Linked DNA regions of Homo sapiens: all the other regions are linked to region 1. The links are contacts of gene promoters, found by promoter capture Hi-C in blood cells and fetal thymus (Javierre and others, 2016). All regions are on one chromosome and are shown on one strand. Each heading gives the region's core, a stretch centred on a gene start or on the middle of the fragment in contact. The rest is flanking DNA. Distances are from core to core; before and after follow the strand shown. Region 1 holds the start of PNMA3 (PNMA family member 3). Region 2 has its middle 13 kb from the start of DUSP9. Region 3 overlaps ATP2B3 (ATPase plasma membrane Ca2+ transporting 3). Region 4 overlaps BCAP31 (B cell receptor associated protein 31). Region 5 has its middle 15 kb from the start of DUSP9.

Region 1 (2,700 bases), core at 201-2,700:
GACAAAGCAAGGGACTGTGAATGGACAAAAATGAGAGAAATAAATTCTAATAGGCATGAAGCAACCAGGGGAGAAATAGTCCCAATTCTACCCAAAGACTGATGGGCACTAATTTAGAATCCAGTCTCAATTCTACCTTCAATACGGTGTGTGACCTTGAAAATGTCTCTTAATCTCTCTGAGCCTCATGAGTCAAATCAGGATAATGTTAATACCTGCTTCAGAGTTCTGGTGAGGAGCAAATGAAATAACTCCTGTAAAGATGTTTCAGGAATTCTGTCTGACCAGGAAAAAGCCCTTGGGGCCATTTCTTCTTGGTCCCTGACAAGTGCCAGGCTGACGAGCAGAACTCAGGGTGGGGCAGGAAGTCAGTGGACAGTTTTGTGCCCCACTCACTGCAAGGTGGCCTCCCAGACTTGGCTGGATGGGTGAACCTGGCCTGAAAATCAACCACAAGCCCCTTTTCGTTGTGTTTGGAGAGGAGCTGAAGCTGTGTGAATAGGAGTTGAGCATGCGGCTGGCAGAGCAGGCAGGACCCACAGAACACCTGGGCCCACTGCCTGAGGGACAGTCACTCCCTTCTTCATTTGGCTGCTGCCCTGGGATCAAACGGATACAATAGAACCCACGGCGCACGGCTGCCAAGGAAGGGCAGGCCCAAGGGATTGGGCTCCAAGTCCTGGAAGTGGTTTCCCAAGTCACTAGATTTGCAGCGCACAAAACCGGAAAGGTCCCGGTAAACCTGTCCACTGGCACCTGGGCAGCGAAGCGCTTTGGCCGGAGGGCCTCAGGTCCCAGCAGCGGGATGGACAGCGGGGAGATGGCTGACCCTCCTTGGGGTGGTGTGCGTGACCTGCATGAGTGCCTGGGGCATCTCCTGCACGGAATGGCACCCGCACCAGGTGCCCCTGGCCTCGCCAGCCAGAGGACCAGTCCTGGACGGGGAGGGGGAGGACAAGAGCAGGTGAACAGGCCCCAGAACCCGGCTCCCTGACCCTGGCCATAATGCAGAGCTGCCTGGCGCACCTCAGACCACTCCCTGGCCCTCTGGTGGGCACGCCGGGGTGCAGACCCCTCGCCCCGCTGGCACCTCCGTGGCACGTGCGGGAGGGGCAGGAGCCGGGACCAGGAACCGCTGTGGTGAGAGCCAAAGGCACGGGGACTGGCCGCCACAGACCTTTGGCCACCGCAGTGGGGATGGGGGTGGGCGGGCGCTTGTGTGCCCGGGGGCCCGGGGGCCCCCGTGGCGGGGGGGCTAGGGGAGAGGAGCAGGTGACGTCACCCGGGGACCTGGGGCCCCCAGGGGCGGCGGCGAGAGCCCGACCTCGTGACCCGTCCGCGCCAATGGCCCTGCGGTCTCCCGGACGACGCGGAGGGGTCCGCGCTGCACCGCCGCCGCGCCCCCGCCCCGTGTCCGCACTGCAGAGAGCCGCGGCGAGCAGGCGCCGGCGCACTGGCCCACGTGCTGCGCGAGCGAGGGAGAGCCACAGTCTGAGCGAACGTCCGCGCTGGGAGCCAGGGGTGCCCGACCCCCGTCCGCCGCCGCCGCCGCCGCCGCGCATAGCCCCCGGAGAGCCCTCTGGGGACCCCGACCAGAAGGGACCTTGCCCTGGGAGAAGGTAACAGACCCACCTGGGGAGGGAGACGCTGGGCCCCGGGAGACTCCGCCGCCCCTCGCCTGTCCGCCCTATCAGAACTGAAGCAGCCTGCAGGGCAGGGGTCCAGGGTCCTGGGGCAGCGCGGGGAGGGGGCTGAGGCCCGCAGAGACCCCACGGGGGGTGGGGGTGGGGGGCTGGGCAGGGGCGGGGCCTGGCTGCAGAGGCGCCGCCCGGGGAGGAGGGCGGCTGGGGGTGGGGGTGGGGGTGGGCGTGGATGTGGGCGTGCGGAGAGGTGGGCATTAACCTCGCTCTCGCCCTGCTCGCATTCACAGGCTGTGGAGACCTGGGCCTTCTGCGATCACCCTAGGAGTTGATCCAGATATGTGCCTCACGCCCTGATCACTCCCCCCAAATTAGTATCCGCAGAGATTCGAGGACATGCCGTTGACCTTGTTACAGGACTGGTGTCGGGGGGAACACCTGAACACCCGGAGGTGCATGCTCATCCTGGGGATCCCCGAGGACTGTGGCGAGGATGAGTTTGAGGAGACACTCCAGGAGGCTTGCAGGCACCTGGGCAGATACAGGGTGATTGGCAGGATGTTTAGGAGGGAGGAGAACGCCCAGGCGATTCTACTGGAGCTGGCACAAGATATCGACTATGCTTTGCTCCCAAGGGAAATACCAGGAAAGGGGGGGCCCTGGGAAGTGATTGTAAAACCCCGTAACTCAGATGGGGAATTTCTCAACAGACTGAACCGCTTCTTAGAGGAGGAGAGGCGGACCGTGTCAGATATGAACCGAGTCCTCGGGTCGGACACCAATTGTTCGGCTCCAAGAGTGACTATATCACCAGAGTTCTGGACCTGGGCCCAGACTCTGGGGGCAGCAGTGCAGCCTCTGCTAGAACAAATGTTGTACCGAGAACTAAGAGTGTTTTCTGGGAACACCATATCCATCCCAGGTGCACTGGCCTTTGATGCCTGGCTTGAGCACACCACTGAGATGCTACAGATGTGGCAGGTGCCCGAGGGGGAAAAGAGGCGGAGGCTGATGGAATGCTTACGGGGCCCTGCTCTCCAGGTGGTCAGTGGGCTCCGGG
Region 2 (2,700 bases), core at 74-2,573, 600 kb after region 1:
GAGCCACCGCGCCCAGCCCCGTTTCCATTTCTTTATTTCCCTTACTTGACCTTTTTGTGATTAGCTGAATTTTCCTTCATTATTTGCTATTTTCTTCTACTAGTTTGGAAGTAGTACATCCTATTTATATTCTAGTTACTCTAAAAAATTTAACATGTATATTTGTCTTAACAAAACATAAAGTCTCTCAATATCAATACGGCCATGAGGGAATAAGAGGGTCCAGAATTACTGTCTCACCATAAACAGCTAGAAATTGGGCAAAATATATGAAAATCCATTGTTTTCAGATGGGGGACAGCAATCAGTGAAGGACTGTGGTCCCTGAGAGAAAGGAGACAGACTAGGAGAGCTCTACATCCCGGCTTTCTGACTCAGATAGAAGAGACATAAAAATGTGGCCCATATGGATTGCTTGAGCCCAGGACTTCAAGACCACTCTGGGAAGTATGGCACAACCCCATCTCTACAAAAAAATACAAAAAATTAGCCAGGCGTGGTGGTGCACACCTATAGTCCCAGCTACTCAGAAGGCTGCAGCAGGAGGATTGCTTGAGCTCAGGAGGTGGAGGTTGCAGTGAGCCGTGATCACACCAGTGCACTCCAGCCTGGGTGACAGAGAGGAATTTCAGTTTCTGGTCCAGCATGTAAGGAGCCTGCAAGTCATCAGTGTCTCCTAAGAAGAAGTAAAACCAGAACAGACTTAAAACTGAACACATATTTTGATATGTGTAATTGGAGGCTCTGAGGAAGAGGAGAAAGAGAAAGGGGCAGAATAAATATTTGAATAAATAATGGCTAAACACCAGCATTTGGTGAAAAGCATTCATCAGATCCAAGAAGTTCGAATAACCCCAAGTGAGATAAACACAAAGAGAGCCACTCATAGACATTTCATGGTAAATTATCGAAAGCCAAAGACAGACAATTTTGAAAGTATTATAGCAGAAGAAATAAATGACCCATATAGAAGGGAACCACAATAAAATTAACATCTGACTTCTCATCAGAAACAATGGAGGCCACAAGGGAGTGGAACAACAAACTGAAAGCACTGAAAGAAAAAAATACTATCAACCAAAAAAAATTTGTTTTGAGACAGAGTCTCAGTCTGTCACCCAGGCTGGAGTGCAGTGGTGTGATCTCAGCTCATCGCAGCCTCAACCTCCTGGGCTCAAATGATCTGCCTGCCTCAGCCTCCCAAAGTGCTCAGATTACAGGTGTGAACCACTGCACCCAGCCCCCAAATTTTATATCTAGCAAAACTATGCTTTAAAAATTGAAGCTGGGTGCATAGCTGGGTGCGGTGGCTCACGCCTGTAATCTCAACACTTTGGGAGGCCAAGGCAGGCGGATCACCTGAGGTCAGGAGTTCGAGACCAACCTGACCAACATGGTGAAACCCCGTCTCTACTAAAAATACAATAATTAGCCAGACATGGTGGCATGCACCTGTAATCCCAGCTACTTGGGAGGCTGAGGCATGAGAATCGCTTGAACCTGGGAGGCAGAGGTTGCAGTGAGCCGAGATCACATCACTGCACTCCAGCCTGGGTGACAGAGAGAGGCTCCATCTCAAAAAAAAAAAAAAAAAAAAAAAAAAAATTGAAGGTTTAAAAAAAGACATTCCCAGATAAACAAAGGCTAACATAGTTCATTGCTAGCCTGCCTCCTTACAAGAAATACTCAAGGAAGTCCTTCAGGCTGAAAGGAAATGACACCAGTTAGTAACTGGAATTCAAAGTAAGAAATGGAGAGCAGAAAAAATGGTTAATAAGTGAGCTAATATAAAAGCCTCTCAACATATTTTTATTCATTTCTTCTCTTTTAAAAACATAAGATTGCATTAAAAAATAGGTATTACACTGTATTTCAGGGCTTATAACCTATATAGATGTAATAAACATGGCATTACTAGCACAAAAGAAGTGGGAAAGAATGTAGCCATACTGAGGCAAAGTCTCCATATTTCACCAAAATTAAGTGAGTATTCATCTGAGGTGGATTGTGATTAGTTAAGACTCATAATGTAATAGCTAGAGAAAACCCTAAGAAAATAACTCAAACTTGGAGTGAATGAAGCATGTTTATGTCTAAATTTCTGCTTCAATGTAATTAAAAATCAACAGAGGAAAATTGGCCAGCACGGTGGCTCACGCCTGTAATCCCAGCACTTTGCGAGGCCGAGGCGGGCAGATCACTTGAGGTCAGGAGTTCAAGACCAGCCTGGCCGACATGGGGAAACCCTGTCTCTACTAAAAATACAAAAGAAAATTCAAATATAACAGATGGACATTTCAATGCTCTATTTTCAATAGTTGATGGAACTAGACAGAAGATCAGCAAGGATATATAAAATCTGAACAACACTATCAACAAATTTGACCTAACTGATACCTATAGAACACACCATTCAACAATTGCCAAATACACATTTTTTTCAAGTGCACATGAAACATTCTCCAGGATAGACCATAAAACAAGTCTCAATATATTTAAAGGAATTTAAATAATTTAAATAATATAAAATATTTCTCTGACTGCAACAGAATTAAATTATAAATCTAAAAAGATAGAAACCTAGGAAGTCCAAAATACTTGGAAATTATACAACACTCTTCTAAATAACTGGCACGTCAAATAAAAAACAAAGGAAATTAGAAAGAATGAAATGAGAATGAAAATGAAAACAAAACATAT
Region 3 (2,700 bases), core at 193-2,692, 520 kb after region 1:
GAGAGGCGGACAGGAGGCTCTGCCAAGTCAGTTAAAGCCAGAAATGGTTCGTGGCCTCCCAGCACCTTCCTTCCTGGGAGCTGAGGGCAGCAGGGGGCATGGCTGTGCCTCCGCCTCCCTCCCCCTTGACTTCCTCCGTATGTCTCTTTGCCATCTCTCTCTGTGCTTCCTGTCTGTCTGTCCATTTGCCCATTTGTTGAGTTAAGGGGAAGGCAGCCACCACGGCCCCACTCCACGCGTTCCTCGAGCCTTCTCCACAGCTCTGGCCTCATCCCACCCCAGGACCAGCTCCTTGTCCCTCTCCAGGTCCAGCCCAGCCTCTGTGGGGCCTGCTGTCTTTTCTCCCTCTGGATTCCTCCTGCTTCCTCCCTGGGGCAGCCTCTTGCTCCTCTCTTCCTTGGCTCCTAGCACTTCCTTCCTGCCTTCATTCCGTGGCCATCTGTCCCCCTCCTCCCCACCTCCGGAGCCTGGCAGTGCGGGGTAAGTAGAGTGGGAGAGACGCCACCCCTCCTGCTGTTCACAAGCTATTCCATGGGGGCCCTAAGTGGCGGATAGCCAGAAGGAGGGCAGCTGTCCCTTGCACACTGTGTGCTCCAGCAGAAGGTGGGTGGCAGGGCCCTCTGAAGAGGCCCATCCCAGCTGAACATCAGCATCCCAGAAAGGACTCTGCCGTGGAGGAAGATGCTGGCTGGGGACCTGGCAACACCAAGGACATGCCCACTTCTGGAAGCCACCTGCCAGAACCACCTCCTGCCATCATCACAGTGCAGCGGATTGGTTTAGAACTCAGAACCCAACCCCCACTCCACGCTTCAAGGACCCCAAGCAATCACCAAGCCCAGCACTCTCATCCTAGAGATCAGGGGAAGGAGGTTGTCCCCAAGGGCCAGGACCTGCACTGGGTCCCATAAGCAGCCAGGCCTGGCAGAGTGGGGACTAGCACCAGCGCCCACCCTCTACTTGGAACTTTCTGGTGGATGAGAGATGCTCTGAAGGCTGTGACGGAGCTCCCCTAGACAAGAGGGCTGCCCCAACTAGGCCTGCAGGGGCGTCGAGTCACGTGGTTTCCTAAGGCAAGCCCACAGTTTCCCATCCTCTTTGCCTGCTCCAGGCCAGGCTGCCTTTCAGCCCACCAGGAGTCTGGGGCCTTTCTGGGCACTGGAGCTGCCTCCGTCCCAAGCCTTTCCTACTAAGGACCTCAGGTCCTCCAGAGAGAAGGGCCGGTGGTTGGTAGCATGACATCCCCTCACCCTGTGCCCCTGGGGCCAATGCAGGAAGTAGCAAGGGGGTGGCTAGGAGGGGTCGAGAGATTTGGGATCGCTGGGGCTCAGTGCTCACACACTCGAGCCCTCCCCACCCTGTCTAACCTCCCACACCTTTGCTGCTTCTGGACTCAGGAGTCCCAACACAGGCCCCATATCCCTCCTCTGCATGCATTGTCAGACTGTGCCGGCCACAACTTCTGACCCCCAGCTCCAGGCAGCCTCCACTGCCCCTCCCCTGCCCAGCCTGGTGACTACCCCACACCATGCCCCAACCACACACTCACACACCGAGGCCACAGTATCACCCTCCCTGTTGGGTGTCCATATTCCGGAGAGCTGGTCAGGGACAGCTGGTTCAGTCACTCGGGTCTACCAAGGGCAGCAGGCACAGGGGGCTGCGCGTCTGCCACTAGGAGGCACGGGAGGGTGCGCGATCATTTGGAAAGCCCCATCAAAGCCACTTGAGAGGCCTTTTATGTCTGTTTTCCACTGGGACACACAGACAAACCCCAGCCACGCATCCAAAGTCTATCCTTCCAGCAGCGCCACACCAGGCCTGTGTGAGATGCTTACTGTTGGAGTCGTTCCTGAGATGCCTCCTGACCTGGCCCAGCAAAGGAGCAGGGGTTAGGCAGCAGGCCATGAGTCTGGTCCCATGTGGCCACCGGGGGTCCCTCCGGGCCGTTTAGTTCCAGTTAATCATGCTGGAAACAGATCACAGCAGTTGCTTGGTTTTATTGGCTTTGGCAACATGAAAACCGTGTGGCCAAAGGGGCCAAACCGGGCCACGTGAGTCCCAGGCTTTCCCTGGACACTCCTTTCCAGGGCCCAGGGCGACATGCTCACCACACTCCCAGCCCCGTGGTGGAAGGAGTCTTGTTTTCTGGAGTTTGCTCCATTCTCAGGAAGGTCATGTGCTTTGAGCCAAGCCTCCCTACCTGGTTTCTGGGAACGGTGTATTGGCATTTTTTCTCAGATCTTTGACAGTCTGCACCCTGCCTCCATGCTGGAAGCAGTAGCAACCCTCCCCCAAGAGCCCTGCCCTAGGCTTTCCTGGAACCCTGGGCCCTACCACAGGGGAATGCCCTTCCAGGCAAACCCTAAAGTAGGCACCAGAACGCAGCCTAGGGCAGACCCCAGGACCCCTGGTCCAAGGCCCTCCCCATCAGGCACTCCGAGTGTGGACTCCCAAGCTGGGAACCTGGGCAGAGACCTCTCAAGACTAATTGGAGGTCCCGCAGCTGGATTCAGCCAGTACGGAGGCAAGGGCTCAGCTGGGCCTTCCTCCTGGGTCCTCTTTAGTCCGACCACCCGACACTGACTCGCCGCGCCCAGGTCAGTTCAGCTTGCTGGTGTTGGGAGCACAGGTCTAGGCTCACACGGTCCTGGGCATGAGTGTGCACACAAGGTGGGAGGCAATTTTCATGAAACTTGC
Region 4 (2,700 bases), core at 73-2,572, 660 kb after region 1:
GGGATGCCACTCTTGCCCACCTGTAATTTCCATTTTCTCATCCTAGTGTTTCCTTTGCCCTTGACCACCTACCCTCCATCTCCTTCCTTACACAGACATATAAAAGGGACTGCCTTCTCCTCACTTCTCCATGTCTTTCATGATTCAGAGCTCCCGGCAGGTTTTCACCTTCCCGATACTATTCTTTTTTTTTTTTTTTTTTTTTTTTGAGATGTCACCCAGGCTGGAGTGCAGTGGTGTGATCTCGGCTCACTGCAACCTCTGCCTCCCGGGTTCAAGCAATTCTCCTGCCTCAGCCTCCCGAGTAGCTGGCACTACAGGCACCTACCACCAAGCCCAGCTAATTTTTTTGTATTGTTAGTAGAGACTGGGTGTCACCATGTTGGCCAGGCTGGTCTCGAACTCCTGACCTCAGGTGATCCACCTGCCTCGGCCTCCCAAAGTGCTGGGATTACAGGCCTAAGTCACCGCACCCAGCCCACCCCTCCCCCATACCATTCTTAAAGCTCTAGATGCTTTTCTGGTAGATGGCCTAGTTTCCTCTCTTTCCCTCTCAATGTGGTCTTTTTTCCTCATTTTGCTGACTGTCACACTCAGAATTCTGGGTTTGAGACTCAGTCTTTCAGATCTGCTTCCCTTTCAGCCTCAGACCACAAGATAATACTTGTTTGGAACTTCCTGAAAAATTTAGGGTATGTGTCTGACTCCTCCCAGCCTTCCTGACTTTCCTAAGTTTGAAGACAGCAAGCTTGTAGATCAAATCTGTGATCAAACCCATTATCTTGAAAAAAATGTGTTTGCCTTTTCTAGCTCCACCCCTCTTTCCAACTTGGTCGCAGAGAGTACCAGATCATCTAAACAACAGATTTTAAGACAAGTAGTCATCGTAGCGCCTAGTAAAGCAGGACACACCAGGTGACTAGAGAGCAAGAATCTCCTAGGCATGGAGATTCTTGAGTCTCGGGGCACAAAACCAAGTGGGGAATAACTGTCCATGAGCCTGAGAATCACTTGGTGCTATGGTCTGAGTGCCCTTCAAACTTCATGTGTTGGAATTTAATCCTCACTGCCGTAGCATTAAGAGGTGGGGTCTTTTGAGAAGTGATTAAGTGATGAGAGCTCCACCCTCAAAGCAAGCGCCTTTCCAATGCCTTCATACATGGTCTGAGCTCCCATCCACCTCCCAGCCAGGCCCTGCTGATCAGAACGGCTATGTGAAGCAGGAGGCAGCAAACAGGGCCCCAGGCTCAAATAGGCACTTCGTAGTGGTCTAGTTTTGCCCGACTAGTTACCCTTAGCCTTGATTAAGGTACTTAGTTTTACCAAAAAAATCATCAGAAATACTCTGGCTGCCATGGAATGTAACATGTCCTCATTACGAGTTTCACGTGGGGAAGGCCCTGAGGTGAGGAGAGGCCCAGCCTCTTCGTGCCACTTTTACCTGCTGTCCCTAGGTCAACACCCCGGACACAAAGAGTCCCCCATTCAGTCGCTCCCTTGTGAGCTGGACTCTGAAGGTCCTCTCCCAGAGGAGGGCAAGGCCTTACCGTTACATCTCACTCTCCATGCAAACAGACCGTGAGATAGTCATCTGTTTGCCTGAGAGTATGTGGTGTGTGAGGGTCTTCTGATATTTCAGGCAGCCCTCTCCTACTCTCCACGCTGCCTCTGGAGGTCAGGAGAAAACTATGTGGCTTCCCTAACACAGACAGGGCTTTGGGATCCAGGCCACAGACTGAGGAGGAATCAAAGTCACAGGGGGGAGACTGAGCCCACTGAGCTCGGTGTCCATGGCTAGCCCATGGCTCCTTTCACAGCACCTGCCCCCTCAACCCCCCACTCACAAGGACAGCAGCAAGGAAAAGCCAGCAATGTAGAGATTCCTCTGGGCACGGAAAAGCTTCATGTGGAAGTGCTCCATGGCCCCGGGATTGTTCTGGAGGTTCACCTTTTCCGTCACATCATCATACTTCCGAATTTCGCGCACGGCATCTGTGGTGGAGCAGAGAGGAGACACGGGCATTTAGCGGACACTAGGGCAAGATAAGGCCATACCAGGCAGACAGGCGGCATGAGACAGGTCAGACTCACTTCCCTCAAATCCGCCTCCCCAGTTCTTCCCACTTCTATGCACATACACCCCTCATGGGATGCTGTTATCAGAAGCTCCCACCCTCAGGCCAGGTGCAGTGGCTCACGCCTATAATCTCAGCACTTTGGGAGGCAGAGGCGGGCAGATCACCTGAGGTCAGGAGTTCGAGACAAGCCTGGCCAACATGGCAAAACCCCATCTCTACTAAAAATACAAAAAAAAAAAATTTAGCCCGGCGTGGTGGTGGGCGCCTGTAATCCCAGCTACTCGGGAGGCTGAGGCAAAAGAATCATTTGAACCCGGGAGGCGGAGGTTGCAGTGAGCCGAAATTGAGCCACTGCACTCCAGACCGGGGGACAAGAGCGAAACTCCATCTCAAAAAAAAAAAAAAGGAAGCTCCCACCCTCAGACCCACTCCTTCCTCCAGCTTTTCAATCCCTGGCCCCATTCTACACAGGCCCCAGGCTTGCTCTGCAGTTCACGATGCTAACCAAGCCTAAAGAGTTTCTGGAAATGGGGGTGGCTTCCTTTTCCCATGGTACCCTCACCGCGTCTTGTTCTGTTCATCTCAAGTTGGCCCATAGCCCCCCAACCCCCACAATGATAAG
Region 5 (2,700 bases), core at 12-2,511, 580 kb after region 1:
AGCAAAACTACCTCCTCTGAGTTGAGTCTCTTTTCACGGAGACCCTCTTCTGTTGCCAGGCGCCAAATATCATGAAAACTGTAACTGGTTAAAAAAAAATCACCTGCATAAAAATCTTTAAAATTCATTTCAACAACAAAACTGTGTATGATAAAGGGTCATTCCACCAAGAAAACATAGCAATCTTAAATGCGTATACACCAAACCACAGAACTGCAAAATATGTGAAGCAAAAACTCATAAAACTGGAGGGCTAGGTGCAGTGACTCATGCCTGTTACCCCAGCACTTTGGAAGACTGAGGCCGGCAGATTGCTTTGGCTCATGAGTTCAAGACCAGCCTGGGCAACATGGCAAAACCCCATATCTACAAAAAAATATAAAAATCAGCCGGGTGTGGTGGTGTGTGCCTGTGGTCCCAGCTACTTGGGAGGCTGAAGTGGGAGGATCACCGGAGCCTGGGAGGTTGAGACTGCAGTGAGCTGTGATTATCCTACTGCACTCCAGCCTGGGCAACAGAACCAGATCCTGTCTCAATAACAAACAACTCTAATAAAACTGGAAGGGGAAATAGACAAATCCACAATTATGGTTGGAGATTTTAACACACTTCTCTCAAAAATTGACAAAACAACTAGACAGAAAATCAGCAAATTATAAAAGAACTCAACATTACCATCTATAAACAGGATCTGATAGACATTTACAGAACACTCTGCCCAACAACAGCAGAATACCCATGGGGCACATCCCAATATAGACGATATCCCAGGCAAACCTCAACGAATTTAACAGAGCTAAAATCATACAGTGTGTTCACTGACCACAATAGAATCAAATTCCAAATGAATCACAGCAAAATCTCCAAACACCAGGAAAGTAAACAACATGCTTCTAAATAGCCCATGGGTCCAAGAGGAAGTCTAAAGGAAAAACTTTTTAAATACACCAAAATAGTCAAAAACAAAACTACAAAACAGGAAAATTTGTGGGATGCAGCTAAAGCAGTGCCCTGGGGGACATTTATAGCACAAAAAGAAAGGCAATTTTTTCTCTCCCTAAAAAGGAATCAGTTTCTCAGAGGCAGGTTGGTGCATGGGAGAGGGTTGACTTGAACAATATCTGGAGAGCTCAAAGCTTTCAAAAAACATTAAACCCTGAATATATCGGGAAGCTGGAAGATGTTAGAGCACTTACATTTACTTTCCTGGATCCAGACTTCACATCGAAGAGTTTAATTGAACTCTGGGTCTACCTCCAGCTGGCTGAATTAGTCTGAACAAGAACAAGTCATTCAGATGTTCAGAGTCTTCATTTCCTCATCTGTGAAATGCTAAGACCCTCAACTTCACAGGGATCTTTTTGAGTTAAACGATAGAGCACTTAAGAAAGCTTCCCGAAACTCCCGAAGCACTGCATTCATTTGCTAGAGCTGCTGTCAAAAAATGCTGCACACGGGATGTGTGAAAACAGCACACATTTATTCTCTCCCAGCTCTGGAGGCCAGAAGTTCAAGATCAGGGTGTCGGCAGGGCTGTGGTCCCTCTGAAGGCTGGAGGGAAAGGTCCGTCCCAGGCCTCTCCCCTGGCTTCTGTCGGGTTGTGGCTGATCTTTGGTGTTCTCTGGCTTGTGGATCTCTGCCTCCACAGCAAGCTCTATACTAAGGCTGTACTAGAAAGTGTTAGCCTTGTCTCTATTGTATCCTTTGATATATATATACATATATATATAGCTCAACCTTGGCTGCCTCCTTGCCAGTTGGCCTACGTGGCTGAGAGGCGTTCTGCTGTCCCCGTCCTTGTGAAGGTATATGCACAGCTATGTGTGGACATAGTGTGGCTGCTCTGGCTCCGGACAGGGCCAGCTTCCTCACTGCTTCCAGCCCCATCTCACCCAGGGCCTCTGCAGCCCTGGGAGCAGCCAGGCTCTCGGCGCACATCTCTGAGCCTGCCCAGGAGGATTCGGGCAGTCACCCGAGCACCTGGTCCCTCACGGAGGCGCACTCTGCCTGAATCCCTCCTCCCAGATGACGAGCGCTCACACGAGGCTTCGGTTTCCTCAGTAACCAAGGCCTGCAGCTGACTGGTCACAGAATTCCAGGGAGAGGTGTCCCAGGGACCACCATTGTGATGACATGGCAGCTGGCCCTCCTCCTGCCCCTGTCCCCCCTTATTCCTCTAGCGCACGCCTAGCCAGCCCCTGGGGGGTGGCCAGCCCGCCTCAGGCCAGGCCAGCTGAGGGAGACTGGGAGGCCTGTGGCCAGCCTGGCCCTGGCAGCCACACTCTGTGCTCTCTGAGACGGCGCACAGCCACCTGGAGCATCATGAAACCATGAAGGGTGCCCAGGTGCCAGGAGAAGGGAGCAGGGCTAGGCCGGGGCTGGGCTGGGAAGGCCGGAGGGGCCTCCAACAGAGGTCAGGGTGCATTTAGAGAAAGGGAATGGCAGAAACAAGGGACTGACAGCAGCAACAGGGACCCAGCGGGCTCCCTGGAGCAGAAGTGGGGACAGGTGGGCAGGTGAGAGGCAGGGGGAGAAAAGGCTCAGTGCCCTCGGGCTCTGGGGCACGCCAGTGCACGGGAGAAAGGGATTCCACAGCAGGCCCATGGGCCTCACCCAGGAATTCCCAGTCTTTTCAAGACAGGACAAGGCCACAGAAAGAACGAGGCCGCATGGTACACACCAAGATGAGGGTAGGGGGAG

The links. Contacts are between HindIII fragments. The CHiCAGO score rates a contact against its expected background, and 5 or more counts as called.
Region 2: a fragment that was not itself captured here is called in contact with the fragment with the promoter of PNMA3 in region 1 in 11 of 17 cell types (total B cells, naive B cells, M2 macrophages and 8 more); the score reaches 10.4 in total B cells.
Region 3: a fragment that was not itself captured here is called in contact with the fragment with the promoter of PNMA3 in region 1 in 5 of 17 cell types (total B cells, naive CD8 T cells, M1 macrophages and 2 more); the score reaches 8.5 in total B cells.
Region 4: a fragment that was not itself captured here is called in contact with the fragment with the promoter of PNMA3 in region 1 in 1 of 17 cell types (activated CD4 T cells); the score reaches 5.6 in activated CD4 T cells.
Region 5: a contact is called between a fragment that was not itself captured here and the fragment with the promoter of PNMA3 in region 1, in 11 of 17 cell types (naive B cells, naive CD8 T cells, M1 macrophages and 8 more). The highest score is 9.3, in naive B cells.

Annotation. Positions count from the first base shown.
Region 1 is chrX:153,055,020-153,057,719 of GRCh38, forward strand. PNMA3 (PNMA family member 3) reads left to right here and starts at 1,451. Exons shown (of 2, transcript NM_013364.6): 1 at 1,451-1,619; 2 at 1,931-2,700. The coding sequence starts at 2,037. The HindIII fragment of the contact is 3,087 bases long and covers 1-2,700 here.
Region 2 is chrX:153,658,465-153,661,164 of GRCh38, forward strand. No RefSeq gene overlaps it. Among named protein-coding and RNA genes, the nearest start is that of DUSP9, 13 kb to the left of the region's middle. The HindIII fragment of the contact is 4,415 bases long and covers 1-2,700 here.
Region 3 is chrX:153,571,213-153,573,912 of GRCh38, forward strand. All of the region lies in intron 21 of ATP2B3 (ATPase plasma membrane Ca2+ transporting 3), which reads left to right. Among named protein-coding and RNA genes, the nearest start is that of CCNQ, 27 kb to the right of the region's middle. The HindIII fragment of the contact is 8,767 bases long and covers 1-2,700 here.
Region 4 is chrX:153,713,698-153,716,397 of GRCh38, forward strand. It overlaps BCAP31 (B cell receptor associated protein 31), which reads right to left. Exons shown (of 8, transcript NM_001256447.2): 4 at 1,845-1,992. Among named protein-coding and RNA genes, the nearest start is that of BCAP31, 9.3 kb to the right of the region's middle. The HindIII fragment of the contact is 1,152 bases long and covers 747-1,898 here.
Region 5 is chrX:153,630,507-153,633,206 of GRCh38, forward strand. No RefSeq gene overlaps it. Among named protein-coding and RNA genes, the nearest start is that of DUSP9, 15 kb to the right of the region's middle. The HindIII fragment of the contact is 255 bases long and covers 1,135-1,389 here.